Linked DNA regions of Homo sapiens: region 2 is linked to region 1. Evidence: promoter capture Hi-C in human tissues and cell types (Jung and others, 2019). All regions are on one chromosome and are shown on one strand. The core of a region is centred on a gene start or on the middle of the fragment in contact, and the rest is flanking DNA. Distances in the headings are between cores, read along the strand shown. Region 1 holds the start of ZNF23 (zinc finger protein 23). Region 2 holds the start of TRG-GCC2-4 (tRNA-Gly (anticodon GCC) 2-4).

Region 1 (2,700 bases), core at 146-2,645:
AAATATTATCAGCACATTTTAATAACAAAACACTGAAAACAACCCACATGTCCATTGAAAATACATCGATAAATTTTCATACAGTTTTTACAATGGAACATTACCCAGAAGCTACACACAGAATGAATTTGGAAACTTAACATTGAATTATGCGAGTCCCAGATGACTTATACACACAATGGTGCCATTTATATGAAGCTCAAAAAAAAAATTTAAGTACATTGCTTACAGATACATGCATATGTAATTATTTTTTAAAATAACAGGGCTACAATTAACACAAAAGTCAATATAACTGTTACCTCTAGGGGTTGGAGGCTGGGAGTTGGGTTGAGGAGGAGGAACACATTGATAAATTCAGCAGTACTGGCAATCTTCTCTTTCTTAATTGGGTGGTGTGTTCATGGATGTTTACTACTATATATGTAACATATAAATATATATTTTAAATAAATATATAAACCAGCAAGGATGGGGTGAAATTGAGGACCCAAAATGTAATACAAAGAACAGCCAATGTGCTTAACTATACTACAGTGAACATAACCACACTTAAGTGGTAGGAAAGAAAAGGGGTAAGCAACTTTGGAAAACAGTATTTTGACTAAATACCATAAGAGTAAAGACAAAAAGACCTGTATCCAAGTACTGTACTTTAGGTAGTAAATTTGCTTTTCATGGGGGTATGAATTAGCGATTCTGAGACTACTAAATATATTCTAAAACTGAGTGAATTCGTAATTACGTTGTAGAAGTCATTCCCAGGTCACTGTCAACCCTGAGCCGAGAGAAGCAGGGCTGAGTTACCTTTTGGGACTGACACTGCTCCAGGAGACAATGTCCTCCAAAAGCCGGGCTGCTTCTGCTGCCGGGTGACTGGGAGGGGCTCTGCGCTCCCACTCGGCCCTAATTCATGACCCTATGTCAGGAGCCTGGGAGCACACGGTCCATACTCGGGATGCACATAGGTTAATGTTCCTGCCAGACCTCAGCATGTCAAAAGACTTGTGGTATCACCTCGGGCCGCTTCACGCCCGCAAATATTCCATCTTTTAGCTGCACCGACACATCTTCCCCCGTCGACCAAGTGCTAAATGCTCAGGGCCTCGTGGCTGGGACAGCAACGTGCGTTTCCCCTTCCAATGGGCGCAAGCTATTGAGCCACAAAGACCAAAGCTGGAGTCGAGGAGCGCGGAAGAGCACCCCGGGCCGCCGCCCTGCTCCCTCTCCCAGCCTGGGCCTCCTGGCAGCGTAGGCCACGGGAGACCCTGCAGCACCCAGGGTGGGAGTGCGTCTCAACCGGACCCAGAGCCTGGGGGACAGGGCACGGCACACAGCGCCCGGAGCCCTGCACTCACCTCCGTAGCGGACTGCTCCCCGGCGCTGCCGGAAGTGCGTCACCAGGCGGCCGGGCCTCTCTAGGAGCAAGGTCGCTGCGCCTCGGTGGTGGTCACGCCCGGCCAGCTGTGGCCGCATCCCTGTCGGCTAGCTCGGGTCTGGCCCACGGTGACTGTTACCCCTGGGGAATGGGGCAGGTAAGAATCAGAGCCAAGCGGGGACCCAGCCCGGGGAGGTGAAGCTGCAGGTGCAGCCACGTGTGGGAGTCTTGGAAATGGACCAGTGGATGGCGCGCTGTCACACCCAATGCCCCCTTTTTCTAACAAATAGTTTGTAATGTCCATCTTATTCTCCTGACCTGATATTCATATATAATGGCCTAGAAAATCATACATAACATACACACCTACATATTAAAAACTAATGTTATGCCTTAAGTGTAATGAAAGAGAAAAAAAAGAGGACCGTCATCTGTCGTTTAAAAACACATACTTCAATGTGTTTGGTCTTGGCTGCTGCAGGAGACCTAATAAGGTGGTCGCCTTTACACATAGACGTTGTCTGAGTGCCACAGCCACAAAGCTGTGACTTACATTGTTGCAAAAGTCACAAAATTATGATCCAAAATGGCAAACATGTTTTCGTGAAGTTCTGAATGAAACACAGGACAATCGTCTCTTGATTATACAATAATTACATTCCTGGAAGATCAGTGTATGTTAAAACTGTGCAAAAATACATGTTTATCCAGAAAACAGGTTTAGATTCAGATAATTTAGAAATAGAATTTTCACCTACCTGAATGTTCAGCAAGACATTTGAAAGTGTGAACATTTTTTCAGTGGGCAGGACTGTCCTGTACATTGCAGGATCCTGGCTCCTATCCACAACGCTAGTAGCAATGTTACCACTGACACCAAATATAACAAAATACCTACCATAAAATTCCAAAATGAGCCCTGGGGGAAGGGAGACAGTACTAAATGCCACTGGATTGGACGACCCTTAAAATCCCCACCCCCTCACACACCCCCTAACCCTGGTAATGTGGGCTTTTCTTCCTTCCAGCTCTGATCCATCCAACGCTGCTGCACTGGAGACTGGTATTTGGCTCCCACTTGCCTCTGTGGCTTCTTATCACTCCCATTCATTCCCTGACTCTACCTCAGCCCTACATGCTAAAAATGCTGTTCTCTAAATCTAGAATGCCCTTCCCTTCCCATTCCTACCCTCCATCTTGACTGTTACTGGAAGTGTGAGCTCAAATCCCATTTTGCATGGGAAGCAAGCCTTCCCTCATCACCCAGAATAAGGCAGGACACTCATTTATGTGCCATCACAGCACTGTGTACTTACTTAATG
Region 2 (2,700 bases), core at 62-2,561, 680 kb before region 1:
AAAATATGTATCCCCGAGTCTTCTAGTTTCTCCCAGTAAAAAAAGCTCCTCCCTTTGAAGGCCCGCACTAGCTTATCCCTCCAAGTTAACTTATTTCTCCAAGTTTTCTTTTTCCAGGAGCTGCCAAAAAGCTTTCAGCTGCTGCATTGGCCGGGAATCGAACCCGGGCCTCCCGCGTGGCAGGCGAGAATTCTACCACTGAACCACCAATGCTCCAGCTGAGTGCTGTTCTGCCTCCAGCTGTTTTGTTGCTCTGATTCACAGTGGTGATGGCACAGCTGTAACCTGACACCTGAGATGGGTCCAGCATGGACAGCTGCTGGATTTTACCAGCCAAACCTATGGGAGGAGGTGGGGCATGCATGCTTGACATTCTGCTCAGCTGTTCAAAAGAAAAGTCCATGAATGGCAATGGGAGAATGCTCAGCAATTCTTTTGGCTCCTGTGGGCAGGTTCCAGACCTTACTCTGTTATCCTTAAAGATCTGAGTAGGCTTAGTCTTCCCTATAAAAAATTTCTTGACAAATTAGCTGAAACTGTCATTCACTTGTTTCTCTTGTTTTATGGCCTTGTGGGTTATTCTACTGAATGCTGTGATTTCTTTTACCACTGGTTGATTTGTCTTGTTTTGCTGTCTTGCCTCCTTGACTAGACTGTAAGCCTCTGGAGCACAAGGACTTTGTCTGGTAAACACAGCTTGATGTATAACAGATGTTTGCTAAATGTTAGATTTGTAATAAATGGAATTTAACTAGAAAAAAAAATCTGAGTAGGTTATATCTCAGTTTACTCTGGCTGCTTCGGCAAAGGAGGACATCAACCCAAAGCTGATCAGTGACCTCTTGGTGAGGACAGAGACCCAAGAAATATGAAAGCATCAGGGTTCTAGATTACATCTGGAGTCAAATTCCAGATGCCAGTCGGCATAAATGTGGTTTCTTTTTTCTTTTTTTTTTGAGATAGGGTCTTTCTCTGTTGCCTAGGTTGGAATACAGTGGTGTGATCATAGCTCACTGCAACTTCTGCCTCCTGGGCTCCTGGGCTCAAGTGATCCTCCCGCTTCAGCTTCCTGAGGAGCTGGGACTATAGGTGTGCACCACCATATCTGGCTAATTTTTGTAATTTTTTTTTTTTTTTTTTTTTGGTAGAGATGGGGTTTTGCCATGTTGCCCAGGCTGGTCTCAAACTCCTGAGTTCATGCAGATTGCCTCAGACTCCCAAAGTGCTGGGATTACCCAGCCCGGCCATAAATGTGGTTTCTTATAATGCAGTTTTCTTTACCTTACAGCTAAACAAGAAAATTATGTTAGAGGAGTCTGAAAGGAGAGCAGAGCAACTTCACTTTTTAAAGGCACTTATTTGGGCAAGAGAATTTTCAAGTACAGAATAAATCGAAGCTAGAGCTTTCTTAACCCTCCCACCCTGAGAATGACCCGCATGGTAAAGGCAGCCAGGCTTCTTGGTGGCTGGACGTCTACGGCCAAGAATCAAGTGCCCCCTGAATCCTGGTACTCCTCCCATGCTCCAAACCTTCCTGCCCTGAAAACAACTCTTTCCCGTGAATCCAGGAAAAAGATGAAGGAAAGGCTTCATGGTCTTTGAGGCAGGAAGGGTTAAGATCATGGCTGCTGGAGACAGCCTGCCTGGGTTCCAATCCGGTTCCAGTCTTCACTAGCTGCGAGTGTGTGGCCATGGTACTCAGCTTCCCTGTGTCCTGTCTGCAGAATGGGGGAGAACCACTGCTGCCACTGCGCTGGGTTGCTGCTACAATTGTGTGAGTGACATACATAAAGTAGTCCTGGTTGCTTAAGTGAGGCCCCAAGGCAACTCCTATGACATCTGGCTCCCTGGGCCCCCGACAGGAGGTGAGGTGTAGGGACGGAGTCCACTCACCACTGGCTGTGCCCTCCTGCTTTGGCAGGGCATCGTCAGGGGTGGGCTCTGCCTGCCTCTGCCCAGGTCTCAGCTCATCCAGCTCGTCGTCCTCGGGGGTGACCAGCTTCATCAGGCTCTGGTTGCACACGTTGGCCACTTCTTTGATGCCTGAGTCCACTGATGTAAGGAGCGTGATCTGATTTGGATGCCTGTCTCTCTAAATCTCTTGCTGAAATGTGATTCCCAGTGTTGGAGGTGGGGCCTGGTGGGAGGGGTTTCGGTCATGGGGGTGGATCCCTCACAAATGGCTTGGTGCCCTCCCCATGGTACTGAGCGAGTTGAGTGAGTTCTTGCTCTATTATTATTCATGAGGGGGCTCGTTCTTTCAAAAAGCCTCCCACCTCTCTTGCTCCCTCTCTTGCCATGTGACCTGCTGGCTTCCTCTTTGCCTCTGCCATGACTAAAAGCTTCCTGAGGCCTCACCAGAAGCCAAGCAGATGCTGGCACCATGCCTCCTGTAGAGTCTGCAGAACCGGGAGCTGAAGCAACCTCTTTTCTTTATAAATTACCCAGCCTCAGGTATTCCTTTATAGCAACGCAAAATGGGTTAATATAGAGTGGTCCCAGCCAGGGGAGGCTTCTCTGAACCTCGTATTCCTAGTCTGGAGCTCAGTCGTCTCAGGGCTACGTTAGGCAGACAGGCTGTCCGAACTGAGCCCCTGCTCTCCTTGTCATACTGGTGCCCCTGTGAAATGCGCCTATTTCTTCTCTTAGGACCCCTTCCTAAACCCTCCCACCAACAGGATCTCCCCAGCCCAAGGTGGG

The links. Contacts are between HindIII fragments. The study calls those that stand out against the background at their distance.
Region 2: a fragment that was not itself captured here is called in contact with the fragment with the promoter of ZNF23 in region 1 in 2 of the 25 tissues and cell types used here (IMR-90 fibroblasts and dorsolateral prefrontal cortex).

Annotation. Positions count from the first base shown.
Region 1 is chr16:71,460,852-71,463,551 of GRCh38, forward strand. ZNF23 (zinc finger protein 23) reads right to left here and starts at 1,396. Exons shown (of 5, transcript NM_001381984.1): 1 at 1,359-1,396. It overlaps LOC124903709 (a long non-coding RNA gene), which reads left to right and starts at 1,461. Exons shown (of 2, transcript XR_007065105.1): 1 at 1,461-2,441. RefSeq lists enhancers at 995-1,084, 1,355-1,514. The HindIII fragment of the contact is 9,699 bases long and covers 1-2,700 here.
Region 2 is chr16:70,778,897-70,781,596 of GRCh38, forward strand. It overlaps VAC14 (VAC14 component of PIKFYVE complex), which reads right to left. Exons shown (of 19, transcript NM_018052.5): 9 at 1,894-2,043. It overlaps TRG-GCC2-4 (tRNA-Gly (anticodon GCC) 2-4), which reads right to left and starts at 213; the gene lies at 143-213. The HindIII fragment of the contact is 5,357 bases long and covers 1-2,700 here.